Linked DNA regions of Homo sapiens: region 2 is linked to region 1. The links are contacts of gene promoters, found by promoter capture Hi-C in human tissues and cell types (Jung and others, 2019). All regions are on one chromosome and are shown on one strand. Each heading gives the region's core, a stretch centred on a gene start or on the middle of the fragment in contact. The rest is flanking DNA. Distances are from core to core; before and after follow the strand shown. Region 1 holds the start of IFT88 (intraflagellar transport 88). Region 2 overlaps CRYL1 (crystallin lambda 1).

Region 1 (7,157 bases), core at 1,595-4,094:
GTGGCGCGGCTCACTGCAAGCTCCGCCTCCCAGTTTCACGCCATTCTCCTGCCTCAGCCTCTCGAGTAGCTGGGACTACAGGCACCCGCCACCAAGCCCGGCTAATTTTTTTATTTTTATTTTTATTTTTATTTTTAGTAGAGATGGGGTTTCACCGTATTAGCCGGTATGGTCTCGATCTCCTGACCTTGTGATCCGCCCACCTCGGCCTCCCAGAGTGCTGGGATTACAGGCGTGAACCACCGCGCCCGGCCAGCTCATTCCCAAAAATCAGGTTATCACATGAATTATAAGGATCCTGTATATATTCCTGATACTAAACATTATATAAATGATTTACAAATACTTTCTCCCATTCTGTACATCATTTTACATTCTTTGTACTATCCTCTGAAGCACAAAAGTTTAAAAAAATTTTTTTTTTTTTTGGGACGGAGTCTCGCTCTGTCACCCAGGCTGGAGTGCAGTGGCGCGATCTCGGCTCACTGAAAGCTCCGCCTCCCGAGTTCACGCCATTCTCCTGCCTCAGCCTCTCCAGCAGCTGGGACTACAGGCGCCCGCCACCACGCCCGGCTAATTTTTTGTATTTTTAGTAGAGACGGGGTTTCACCGTGTTAGCCAGGATGGTCTCGATCTCCTGACCTCGTGATCCGCCCGGCTCGGCCTCCCAAAGTGCTGGGATTACAGGCGTGAGCCACCACGCCTGGCCAAAAGTTTTAAATTTTGATGATATACAATTTATTTTTCCTTTGGTTGCACGTACTTTTGGTATCATATCTAAGAAAGAACTGCCTAATCTAAGGTCAAGAATATTTATACCTATGCTTTTTTTCTAACAGTTTTAGCTCTTATATTTAGGTCATTGATCCATTTTGAGTTAATTTCTCATTACTTTTTGAAGATGAAAATTAACTACTATGAGGGCAAATGTCACCCACATAGAAATGGCATTCCAAAATAGCTTCAAAAGGTTATTAAAAGGGCCAGGCGTCGTGGCTCACGCTTGTAATCCCAACACTCTGGGAGGCCGAGGCGGGCGGATCACGAGGTCAGGAGATCGAGACCATCCTGGCTAACACGGTGAAACCCCGTCTCTACTAAAAATACAAAAAATTAGCTGGGCATGGTGGCGGGCGCCTGTAGTCCCAGCTACTCGGGAGGCTGAGGCAGGAGAATGGCATGAACCCGGGAGGCGGAGCTTGCAGTAAACCGAGATTGCCGCCACTGCACTCCAGCCTGGGCAACAGAGCGTGCGACTCCGTCTCAAAAAGAAAAAAAAAGGTATTAAAAGTCACTGGTAAAAGATATATAAAATATTTTTAATTAAAAGCTTTAGCTCAGATAATACTAAACCAGTGGTTCTTAAACCCAAGTGATGCTGAGGCTACTGGTCTGGGGACCACTTTGAGAACCACTATTCTGAACCATAATTTCTGATTATGAACCCTATTTAAGTCAGCTTAGTTGACACATAAGTTATAGAAGGAAGCAACTTTTAGAATGAGAAATCCTTTCTGCTAGGTTGTAACCAGATTTTTAAAAGGTTTGACTTGAGACTTTAGTTGAATAGACATCTTGTGGAACATACAAATATTAAAAGATGTGGAAAGTGAGGCCAGGAAAGTTGAAGGGAATCAAGCATGGCTAATAGCTATGGGTGGCAGAACAACTGTTGTTATACAACCCAGGGTTTCTGGATTCTCCAGGCAATTTCCAAAGCAGCTTATACATGTAACAAACTTTTCCATGTTGAAATAATCTGGGGATGATGCCACCTATGTTTAATATAAATCAAATGCTGGCAAAACCTTTTTTTTTTTTAAGTGAAAGGTATGTTTTTTAATACTCTTCTACTGACTATGGACAGTCTACTTCAAGCTTTTCCAACCCCGGCCCGCACGTGGCACAGGACGGCTTTGAATGTGGCCCAACACAAATTCGTAAACTTTCTGGAAGCATTATGAGATTCTTTTTTGCGATTTTTTTTAAAGCTCATCGGCTACCTTAGTGTTTGTGAATTTCATGTGTGGCCCAAGACAATTCTTCTTCCGATGTGGCCCAGGGAAGCCAAAGATTGGACACCCTTGGTCTACTTCCAAGAAGCCTACTGCAGTTTCTCGAAAAAAAAAAAACAAACAAAAAAAACTCACAACCAGAAAATCGGACTAGTAAAAGTGTAATTTTAGGCTTAGAAAGAATCTTGGGACAACAGTACTTCACGTTTTTGGAATGTTTCCATCTTTGTGAGGCTAAGTACCGCTTTCTGCATTGTTGTGTACTTTTATCTTCATTCCTGATTCAACTTTCATCAGGCAATTTGAAGTGCTTCACCTAACAAGAAAATTAAAGAGCGATGTGCACCATCTCTGCTGTGCGATTCCAGAGCTGGCGCAGTAATCTAACTGGGTTTTAAGTTTCCCCGTCAGGCGTGACTGGGACTTGGGACATCGCCAAGCGGTCAGCGACGCCCGTCCCAGTTCAGAGGAGCAAGAAAAGCCTGTGAGCTGGGGACACCGATGTGAGAAACAACGCCCGCGTTTCTGAGTAGACAACTCGGGAGCCTGAGGAAGAAAAGCAGGGGCAGGCCGAGTCCATCTGGGGCCCCGCCTCAGACCGCCCCGGGGCCGACAGGGGCGGGCAGGAGACGGGCGAAGAGGCCCTCGGCGGGATGCGCCACACAGGACGCCGCAGGGGCACGGCTGCCAGGGGCCCTGAGGCACTAGGCCCCAGCGCCCTTCTCCTACCTCACGCTGAGGGAAGCGGGCGACAGTTATTCGGGCCCAGGGACGACGCAGCGGTTGGCCAAAGCGCGACGCCGAGCCGTTGCCAAGCGCGGAATCCAAGGAAGCCGCTCCCACAGTCCTCCGCGCGGGGGCGGGCGGGGCCGGAAGCGCGGGGGCGGGAGAGAGCGCGGCGGGAAGGGGGTGGTGCGGGAGGCCTGGGGAAGTGGGTGGGGGCGGAGAACGGCGGGTCAGAGAGAAGGCAGCCCGGTCCCCCTCAGTGGAAGGGAGTGGCGGTGGGCGGAGGGTGTTGAGGGGACGGTGCCAGCGGCTTGCGGGAAGCCGGGCGATGCGGGTAGAACGGTGGAGGAGAGGGCAGGGAGGCCGGGGCCTCCCGTGGAACGGAACCGGGGGGTTGGGAGGCTGGGGGCGGCCTGTGTGAAGGGGGCGGGGAGGGAAAGGCTCGCGGCCAGTAGATGCAGGAGGGAGGAGGGCCTAGAGGGGCTCCGGGCTGGCGGCCTCTGTGAGGAAGGGGAAGGATATGGAACCAAGATCCTTTAAATCCTGATGAACTCATCCGTAAAGCAGATGCCCAAAGGATGATAGTAAGCTTACTGTGACATAACTCCCGGAGCCGCAGCACGAGCCTTGTGAACCTTGGAAGCCCGTTTTCCGCGCAGTCACTAACTCGCTTAGTCACCCTGTGTAAAAGTTATTCTGGGATGACACCTGCCTGGGAAGTCTCACCTTTCCCCCCACCTCCTCCTGTCTGCGTATTGTTCTGTAGCACCCCGTGCGCACCTTGATTGTAGCGCTTAAGGTGTCCGTTTTATTTACTAGACAGGGATTGAACCATTGTGTCCCAACCACCTAGAACCTGGGTCATAGTGTAAAGCTTAATCAATGTAATATAAATGGGGGAATTAAATTCATAATTGTTTAATGTTTAAGTTTTGTCTTAAATTTTAAAAGTAAATGTTGGGGATGGAGGGGAGGGACAGAGGGAGTCTAAAGACACCAGTAATTAATGAGTTTTTATAAAATAAGTAGTGTTGGCCGGGCGCAGTGGCTCATGCCTATAATCCCAGCACTTTGGGAGGCTGAGGCTGGCGGATCACCTGAGGTGAGGAGTTGGAGACCAGCCTGGCCAACGTGGTGAAACCCTGTCTCTACTAAAAATACAAAAATTAGCCCGGCGAGGTGGCAGGCGCCTGTAATAAATCCCAGCTACTCAGGAGGCTAAGGCAGGAGAATCTCTTGAACCCAGGAGGTAGAGGTTGCAGTGAGCCAAGATGGTGGTATTGCACTCCAGCCTGGGTGACAAGAGCGAAACTCCATCCAAAAAAAGAAAAAACATAGTGTTGGGGGACAATTCTCCATGGGTCACCTGCACTTTCCCGTGTTTTGTGAGCAGAGACACTGACTGCCTTTGTTCTGGAGTACTATGATAGCTGGTATTTTTTAAGATGTGATTAACAGTTAAATTAGACTTGAGTAAAGCAGTTGGTCCTCCACAAGGTGGGTTGGCCTCATCCCGTCAAGGGAAGGTCATAAGAGAAAAGACTAAGGTCCTCTGAGGAAGAAGGAATCCTGCCCCCAGACTGCCTTCAGCTCTTTCCTGGGTCTCTAACTTGACCTACAAATTTTAGGCTTGCCAGCATTATAAATAAAGTTTTGGTGCCGCAAAAGAAATAGCACTCAACTATAAAATTTTCTTTTTTCCTTCTCAGCAAGGCAATTTACTTCTATAGAAGGGTGCGCCCTCACAGATGGAGCAATGGTGAGCACACACCTGGACAAGGGAGGCGAAGGGGTTTTTATTCCTGACGCTTGTGGCACCTGCTGCTGTGTCCTTCCCCTGTTGGCTAAGGTTAGACGGCACAGGCTAAACTAATTCTGATTGACTAATTTAAAGAGAGTGACCGGGTAAGTGGTTTGGTGGGAAAAATAGTTATGGCAGAGCAGGAAATCGGAATGAGTCAGGGTGGAGAATGAGTCAGGGCAGAGCAGGTAATCAGAATGAGTCAGGGTGGAGCAGGTAGTTGAAAAAGATTGCTTTACGAGGAAGTTAAGCTTTTTTTGTTTTGTTTTGTTTTTTTTAATTGAGACAGAGTCTCGCTCTATAGCCTAGACTGGAGTGCAGTGGCGGCATCTCGGCTCACTGCAAGCTCTGCCTCCTGGGTTTGCTCCATTCTCCTGCCTAAGCCTCCCGAGTAGCTGGGACTACAGGTGCCCGCCACCACACCCGGCTTATTTTTTGTATTTTTAGTAGAGATGGATTTCACCGTGTTAGGATGGCCTCCATCTCCTGACTTCATGATCTTCCCGCCTCGGCCTCCTGGGATTACAGGTGTGAGCCACCGCATCTGGCCAGAAGTTAAGTTTAAAAGTAGAAGACAAAGAATTGAACATACTGACATTGATTCTTCGAAGAGAAATTTAGAACTCATATCTAACACCAGCCTCCAATTGATTGAGCCAATTCCTTCAAATAAATCTCTCTCTGCAATATGCATCCTATTGGATCTGTTTCTGTAGGGAATTCTGATTAATATACCCTTTCAAGGAACAGCTTTGGAAGATTAAGATAATTGTCTGCTTCTGGAACAAAAGACAGGTTTGTTGCTGTTCAGTTTAATAAAGAGAGTGTCACCTTCTGGGGCAAAGGCTGAGCATGTTGGCTTGCAGTTCACTGTTCAAGACTGGGCTTTCCTAAACTTGGTGTACCTGGGCGGTAAAACCAATCACATGTGCAGCATCCACCTGGACTGTCCCCATGGGACTTGGAAGGGAAAGGGGAACCGAAGGGAATATGAAGCCCAGGCTACTGGCTGTGCTGTGAAAAATAAAGCCCTTTCTCTCTGACTCAGGTGTTTTCTGCCATCATTTGTGGAGCTGTTAGATGAGCTTGTTAGCTTGCAAGTAGGGTAAAATCTAACATGATTCTGAATAGTATCTAGCCATACTATACCCAGCTCATAGCAGTTGTTCCAAGAAATATTTGTTGAATTAATTAGTGAATACCGGGGAGCCTTATTTCAAGTTACTGTCCCTCTATAGACACAATTTCCATTATCTCTGGATCTCCAAACTGTAAATTTTCAGTCTCCTCAAAAAAATCTTTTTAATTAGAAACAAATTCAAGTTACTTCAACTTGGTTACTTTTTTTTTTTTTTTTTTGAGACAGAGTCTCACTCTGTAACCCAGGCTGGAGTGCACTGGCACCATCTCAGCTCACTGCAACCTCTGCCTCCCGGGTACAAATGATTCTCCTGCCTCAGCCTCCTGAGTAGCTGGGACTACAGGCATAAGCCAGCACACCCAGCTATTGTTTGTATTTTTAGTAGAAATGGGGTTTCACCATGTTGGCCAGGCTGGTCTCGAACTCCTGACCTCTTGTGATCTGCCCGCCTCTGCCTCCCAAAGTGCTGAGGTTACAGGCGTGAGCCACCGCACCCGGCCTCAACTTGGTTGCTCTTTGGGTGTGATACAGTTACTTGCCCAGGGAGTGCTCATTCACCTTCATTTTAAACATCATTATGTAGCTAGCATTTAATGAACACACCTATTATTGCCAGGCAAAATGTTAGGGTCACCTAGCTTATATTACTGAAATTCAAGCTCCACAGAGAATGGGCGTTTTTGTCTTTTTTGTTCTAGACTGTATCTCCAGTACTTAGAAAAGTGCCTGGAACTAGTTGACTCTCAATAATTGTTAATCGAATGAATTGTCAGGACTTGTAATTAATTATATAGAGAGTTGGGGGTGAATGGGTAGTAAGCAGCAAGCATGAATCCCAAGTTTGGCATGAGTAATGGGATGAATGCTAGCACCATGTATTACCATGGAGAATACTGGAGGAGATGCAAGTTTGAGAGAGAAAATGAGTTTAGTTTTGAATATGTTGAGTTTCAGATGCCTGTAAAATATGCAAATAGAGATGTTGACTAGGCAGCTGCTGAGTATATACAATTGTATTAATAAAGCTCAGAGAAAAGATCCTCAGGCCTGGTATGGTGGCTCACATCTGTACCTGCACTTCGGTGCCAAGGTGGGAGGATTGCTTGAGGCCAGGAGTCCAAGACCAGCCTGGGCAGCATAGCAAGACCCTGTCTCTACATATAAATAAAAATGAGCCAGGTGTGATGGTCCACACCTGTAGTCTTAGCTACTCAGGAGGCTGAGGCAGGAGGATCCCTTGAGCCCAGGAGTTTGGAAGCTGTGTTGAGCCATGATCATGCCACTGCACTCCAGCCTGGACAACAGAGTGAGACTCTATCTCTTAAAAAGAAAAAGAGGCCAGGTGCGGTGGCTGACACCTGTAATCCCAGCACTTTGGGAGGCCGAGGTGGGCGGATCATGAGGTCAGGAGTTTGAGACCAGCTTGGCCCACAAGGTAAAACCCCATGCCTACTAAAAATACAAAAATTAGCCA
Region 2 (7,205 bases), core at 1,453-3,952, 150 kb after region 1:
TACAAAGTCAACATACAAAGGTCGGTAGCATTTCTATACACTAACAAGGAACTACGTGAAAAAGAAATCAAGAAAACAATTCCATTTACAATAGCTGCCCCCAAAATGCTTAGAAATACATTTAATCAAGAAAGTGAAATATCTGTACACTGACAACTATAATTACACTGATGAAAAAACTGAAGAAGACACAAATAAATGGAAGGACATTCTGTGTTCATGGATTGGAATGATTAATATTGTTAAAATGTCCATACTGCCCAAGGTGATCTACAGATTCAGTGCAATCCCTATCAAACTTCCAGTGGCATTTTTCACAGAGTAGCGTGGCCCTTTGTTTGGAAAGACTGTAGATACCACTCGAGATGGGTTAGGATGCACATGACAAACTGTTGGAATGTGGGGCTCTTCCAAAAGGAGAGCAGGAGTGCAAGACTTTTCCAGAAAGGCTGGTGGCTTTGGCAGAGAAATGGCATCTAAGCATATTTGTAAAGCTTTCTCCTCCTCTATGTTAGAGTCAGAAGCTGCATGCCACCCGTGTGCAGAGCCAAGTCCAGCTCAGCTTTCCCACAGGTTTGCTTACACTTGCTGGGCGACCCCAGCCTGGCTGGAGGTGCAAGGGAGCACGTTTGTACCTTGTAATGATTTCTCTCTAGAGTAGTGCAGATGTTCGCAGGGATAATGTCAACTGCCACAGCAACTGGAATTCTATCTGCAAACTTTTATTTGCTGTGTTGGAATCATTAGTTAATTAGGACTTTTTTTTTTTTTTTTGGAAATGGAATTTCACTCTGTGGCCCAGGTTGGAGTGCAATGGCGTGATCTCGGCTCATGGCAATCTCCATCTCCCAGGTTCAAAGGCTTCTCCTGCCTCAGCCTCCCAAGTGGGTGGGACTACAGGCGCATGCCACCATGCCTGGCTAATTTTTTGTATTTTTAGTAGAGATGGGGTTTCTCCATGTTGGCCAAGCTGGTCTTGAACTCCTGACCTCAAATGATCGGCCTGCCTTGGCCTCCCAAAGTGCTAGGATTACAGGTGTGAGCCACCGCGCCTGGCCTTAATTAGGATTTTTTTTCTAGCAGCAATTTTCCATAAGAAGTAGACTATTTTTATACCATTATTTATTATTTTGTGGGTGGCCATTTTCTGAGTAGTCATATTGGTGAGCAACAAAACCCTATTGAAAAGAGAGATACTGCTGATTTATGAATTTAGAGATACCTGTATCCCCATTAATAAGCAAATAAATAACATCAACCACATACTCATTAAAAATCCCCAAAATGCTGCAAAGCTTCTATGTTAGTATTCTAACTCTAAAAATAAATAAATAAATAAATAAATAAATGAAAATGCTGTTACTATAACACCTTCTAGCAATCATTACCAATAGGTGCTTGAGCAGTGAATATAAATGATGGATTTCAGCTCCCTCAGTTTGAAGTTGGGAAGTTAACAGGCCAGGGGTAAGGGTCCCCAGAAGTAGAGGATGGGGGTAAGGAGCCCCCAAGAGAAAAGGCAAAGAGAAGAGAGGTGGGAGGTGACAAATGACACTGCATCCCTCTTCCCTTGTGGGAGCCAGCCTTTGTGCCTTCCATCAGCTGCAGGTAGAAGCCAGGTGAGAGGCCACTGGAGCCCTATGGGCCATCAAGGCAGGAAGCATCTCTGGGTAAAGATGTGGGGAGTAGGCAGATATGGGGCTTGTGCTCCATGGCTGTTTTTGGAGTCAGGGCTTACACTCTTTGGTTCAAAACTTATTGTAGTAAACTGTATTCCCAGAGGACCCCTCAATTAAAGTATCACTACCCTCATAGAATGGAAGTGAATGTATTCACATTCATACACAATGATGGATTCTTTTTGCTGTTGTATTTGTTGTAAAAGTCGAGGCTTTCCCTTTCTTTCAAACTCTATAATACTGTTGTTTTTCCCCCTAAAAGCATCATTATACACACAGTGTTCTAAGAAAAAGTGCACCAGGGAATTAGCACTGGGGCCTGAAGTACTCTGGAATGTCCCTTTTATTAGGGCAAAGTCTTTCCTCTCTTTCCTTTCCATTTTTTTTTTTGTTTGTTTGTTTCTATTTAAAAGCTCTATTTTAGGCTGGGCGCAGTGGCTCACGCCTGTAATCCCAGGATTTTGGGAGGCCAAGGCGGACGGATCATGAGGTCAGGAGATCGAGACCATCCTGGCTAACACAATGAAATCCTGTTTCTACTAAAAATACAAAAAATTAGCCAGGCGTGGTGGCGGGCCTGTAGTCCCAGCTATTTGGGAGGCTGAGGCAGGAGAATCGCTTGAACCCAGGAGGCGGAGGTCGCAGTGAGTTGCGATCACGCCACTGCACTCCAGCCTGGGCGACAGAGTGAGACTCTGTCTCAAAACACACACACACACACACACACACACACACACACACACACACACACACAACCTCTATTTTAAAGAAAAGTCAAAGGGAAAAACTCCACCTGTGTTTGCTCTACCCTAAGTCAATTGCTTTCATTTTCCTTTGTTCCTGTCTAGTCTCTATTATGAACATGCTACTCAAGTTTTTATTCATTCTTAATGGCTTTATGATATTTCATTTAGCTGGTCTTTTTTTTTTTTCTTTTAAATCCAATCTTTCCCTTACTGCGGGATGTTTTAAGGTCAGGCCTCAGTGAGCCTCTATGCACATATGGTTTCTTCTTCTGGAGTCTTTTCTGGAATAATTCTGGGAGTGGGCTCAGCCTGCGGGAGAGTAACATTTTTATAACTTGATAGATGTAGCTGAGATGCCTCCCAGAGGGGAGACCCGCCTCTCCTCCGGCAGCTGTGCACGTAGGCTTGTTCCCAGCAGCCTGGCCAGGGTGGTCCACCTGGTGTTTCTCATCTTCTTTCCCCGGAGCGCTGACTCCTGCGCGTCCTCTTGGAAGACTCTTGACAGGACGGGTGTTTTATGGGTGTGATTCAGTGTCCTCTTGCATCAGTTCAATGTGGTGGTGTTCAATCAACCCTTGTAGCGTTAGCAAAATTTGCTCAAGTCATTCCGCAGGAATGTCTGTGTCTTGCTTCCAAGAAAGCTTGTAAGTGCCGGCAACAGGCCAAGCAGCTCACAAACCTGACCACAAGCCTGTGAGTAATTGTGGGGCAGCACTTAGCAGTCTTTTATTTTCGACTTATTAAAGTCTCATCTTGGCCTCACCTTCTCCCTGGAAGGTGGCGTGGGTGGGAACCACTGGGTCAGATCTTTTTCACCCTTGCCGTGGAGCCAGTTTCCTGTTGCATGTGGGGGAAGCAACATGTGGTGAAGAGTATAGAAAACGAAAACATGTGGGTACAGTATGTATAAGTGGAGGGAACAAACTCATAATTCCAACTAGTTTCTCATGAGAGACTCATGAATCATTGTGGTAGTTCTCAATATAAACTTAATCTAGGCCGGATGTGGTGGCTCACACCTGTAATCTCAGCACTCTGGGTGGATCACTTGAGGTCAGGAGTTTGAGACCAGTCTGACCAACATGGAGAAACCCCATCGCTACTAAAAATACAAAATTATCCAGATGTGGTGGCTCACACCTGTAATCCCAGCACTTTGGGAGGCTGAGGCGGGTGGATCACTTGAGGTCAGGAGTTTGAGACCAGCCTGACCAACATGGAGAAACTGTGTCTCTACTAAAAATACAAAATTAGCTGGGCGTGGTGACGCATGCCTGTAATCCCAGCTATTTGGAGGCCGAAGCAGGAGAATCGCTTGAACCTGGGAGGCAGAGGTTGCAGTGAGCCGAGATCCTGCCATTGCACTCCAGCCTGGACAACAAGAGCAAAACTCCATTTCAAAATAATAATAATAATAATAAACTTAATCTCTAACTCTGTTACTCCCTGTAGCATTTGCAAGGACCCTAGGGCTGGATGTTTCTCAGAGGGATAGTCTAGTACCCTAGCTCATGCTCGAGTTACTTCTGTGCAAGTGACTGTTCTTGTCTGGGTCTGTCCTTGAACATCTCTGGAGATGAGAAAATCACCGAGATTTAACTTTGTTCCATCCTTTCTTTCACTAGAGATTGAGATGGACGTGCTGGTGTAATCCTTTCTTCTTGGCCGCTGCCCTGGGGTGATCCACACAAGCCCAGTGCTTTCTTCATGTCGCCCTCGTAGGGCTGAAGGTGGCAGAGTACTCTACTTCTCGCTGTTGCGTTTCTTTATTTGACACTCACCTAAGATAAAACCTTTTGTGACTCCTGACTCTTAATTTTTCTCCTGTTTCTCAGTTGACAGTGGACTTATGCCCAAACTCTAGCTGAGGAGTGGAAGAACTTGAATAGAACCTCATCCAAATTCCTGGGTAGCAAGTCTGTGTTCCTGCTGGTGATAGTAGTAGTAAAGTTATTGTAGTGTTTGCACAAGAAAAATGTGAAAATTCAGGACCAAGTTTGGGGGAAAAGTAGAGCAAAACAAAATAGAAGATCAAAAGCTGGGAATTAGTAAAAAAGAAGTGGATGAGGAAGAATGGTATGAAGAAAAATGAGAAAAGCAAATGAAAATGAGGCCATGCAAAAAATACATGAATCAGAAAATTAAATCTAGGAATGGGATGATTATAGAGAAGGAAAGATGGTTCGGTGTAGCTGGTGATCAGTAGAGGAGATAGTCACGGAGGAGGATTTATCCATCAAATATCGTGTGCCTCCACCACACAAGTTTCTCTCCTGCCTTCCTCTTCTTCTGGGACTGTCCGAAGGACCAGAGTAAGTACCACAGCATCTGTTAACCCTTTGCTATTGTTAATTGTTAGATGTGTCTTGCTTCCTCTTCTCCCCATCCCCACCCCACAAACAAACAGAAGTGCTTGATCCAAGATCCCTGAGGGTATCTGTCCCCTGAGAGGGTCAGCTCGGCCAGGCTAGAGCGTCCAGTCACTCAGTCAAACTCAGTCTAGATGTTGCTGGGAAGGTATTTGGTACATAGTTGACTTTAAGTAAATGAGATTATTCTCCATAGTCTGGGTGGGCTAAATCCAGTCCATTGAAAGGCCTTGCAAGCAGAACTGAGATCTCCCTGAGGAAGGAGAAATTCCACCTGCAGACTGTGGGGTAGTTCCTGCCTGGAGTTGCCGGCCTGCCCTCCTGATGGCCTGTCCATGGCTTTCTGACTTGCCAGGCCCACAGTCACATGAGCCAATTCCTTGAAATAAATCTCTTGATGTATGTGTGTATGTGTGTGAATCTTACTGGCTTTGTCTGGTAGAACCCTGAGTGATACATCCCTAAACCTTTCATTCGACTTAACATTTGTTTCATAGCAGTTGGGTACGTTATTAACTATCTTGCATTTTCTCCTACTTCACGGATGTCTTGTGGCTCCTCTCAGCCTGGGCATTTTCTCCTACCAAATCAGGTGCAAAATATGTGCCCCAGCTATGCATGTGTTACTCCACTGTGGAAAAATCTCAGGTTTTAACTAAGGAAGCAGAAGCAAGGAGTTTTTCAATAAAAGGGGTTCCTTAACACTGTCTGGGATCTCTTTGCCCAATGATTTTCAGGACGCGAAACCATGTTTTGAACTAACAGTGATTGTAGTATTCATTGCTTTGTATGATTTTTAAATAATCTTTTCTTTGTATGTGTGACTTGAGAATTTTACCTTAAAATGGAGTAAGTACTGATTGCTAAACTGATCAATGTTAACAGAACCACAGAAGGGCTGGACTCAGGTAGGGTTCCCATCTCCGCACAGCTGTGTTGCCCGTCACCTATTATAAGGAATCGCTTGTCAGTTCCCTGTTTCAACACAAGCACTTGTTTCTGCCTGTCATGCTGCTGCGATTATTTATCAATGACAAATGATTATTTGTCATTGTTATGATAATATTAGGCCACAGATGTCACAAGGCTTTGGGTGGAATTAAGCTCAGTGGCAAAATTAAGCAACCTGAGCTTCAAAACATCCTAAATGGAAAAGCTTTAGTTCAGCACCAAGTGCAGCAGGGAGAAACTCAAACGTTTGCCTTGGGGACATGATATCCTAGTTGTGGAGCTTCTCAACTGAATGCCTTGTGGTCCTTTTCTTTCTCTATATTTAGCTTCTTGGTAAAAACTCAAGCTTTGAGAAATCCATTTCAGAAATTCAAATGGGCAGAAAGAAGCAGTGAGGAAGGGAAAGTATCAAAACGTTTTTCCCTTTCTAACTTGTTCTACTGGTGAATAGTGACTGATGGAAGACCCACAGCCCTCCTCTAGATGAAATCAGGCAGAACTGAGAACATGGGAGTTGGAGGGAATGTGGTTCCTCCCAGGTCATGGGGCAGCATGGAGAACCCTTCTCAGGCGTTAGTTAGGGGCTGTTAGCTCAGATGATACAAACCAAAAAGGACCTACTCTTGAGTGGCTCACCTTTTTTCTATTTTGCAATCCTAAAAATGATTTTTTAAAAATCAGCTCTAAAAATACTAAATACGATTCTAAAAGAGCCAAGCCAAATAACACTGCAAGTATAGGGTGGCTTCCATGTTTGCATACTTCCCAGTTTGAATACTAAAATGAAAACTTGGGGCTGTTTGGAATGTTGGCCTGGAAAGCAAGGGTGAGGGAGCGACTGCAGGCCGCCTGGCTGCCTTTCACAGCATTCCAGAGCCCACGGGGGTGCGAGGGGCCACAGCCCAGGCCTTCCAGCAGCCTGGAGAGAGGGCAGGGAGCCACCCTTCCTGCCTCCAGACCTCCTGCCAGGGAGAGGAGGCGACAATGCCTGTGTTCCACACGGGATTCTTGACGGTTCCGGGAGTTTCTGTGGGCCTTAGGTAGATATCCCCCAGCCCCCGTGATGCCCCGACCCGTTACAGCTTCGCTATTGGGAGTGAAAGGAGGCGACCCTCCTCAGCATTGCAGTGACTTGCACAGACTGATTCACTCTCCTTAGCAGTCAGTGAACATGTGGTAGGGTGATTTAGAACTCGAAGGAAACCTGGTGAGATACCATTTCACCCTACCAGATTAGCGAAACTTTGCAAGGGTGAGGACACCAAGCGTGGCGAGGCTGAGGCGCGACGGGACCTCTTCTACACAATTCTGGAGGCCGGGGCGCCGCAGTGACGGGGAGAAGGATGCTCTGGGCCCCAGCCGCGGCCCGGGCCCTGTGCGCGTGACCCTGGCTGCCCTGCTCACAGGAGCCCCAGACTAGCCAAAGGCTCATGGCCGCAGGGTGGATGACTAAACTCATA

What was found. Contacts are between HindIII fragments. The study calls those that stand out against the background at their distance.
Region 2: a contact is called between a fragment that was not itself captured here and the fragment with the promoter of IFT88 in region 1, in 1 of the 25 tissues and cell types used here (lymphoblastoid cells).

The regions. Positions count from the first base shown.
Region 1 is chr13:20,562,844-20,570,000 of GRCh38, reverse strand. IFT88 (intraflagellar transport 88) reads right to left here and starts at 2,844. Exons shown (of 26, transcript NM_006531.5): 1 at 2,745-2,844. It overlaps LOC105370103 (a long non-coding RNA gene), which reads left to right and starts at 2,972. Exons shown (of 6, transcript XR_941725.3): 1 at 2,972-3,325; 2 at 4,451-4,500. RefSeq lists silencers at 2,451-2,639, 2,735-3,144. The HindIII fragment of the contact is 1,600 bases long and covers 2,605-4,204 here.
Region 2 is chr13:20,415,930-20,423,134 of GRCh38, reverse strand. All of the region lies in intron 5 of CRYL1 (crystallin lambda 1), which reads left to right. Among named protein-coding and RNA genes, the nearest start is that of MIR4499, 14 kb to the left of the region's middle. RefSeq lists enhancers at 2,909-4,108, 6,694-7,205. The HindIII fragment of the contact is 3,613 bases long and covers 896-4,508 here.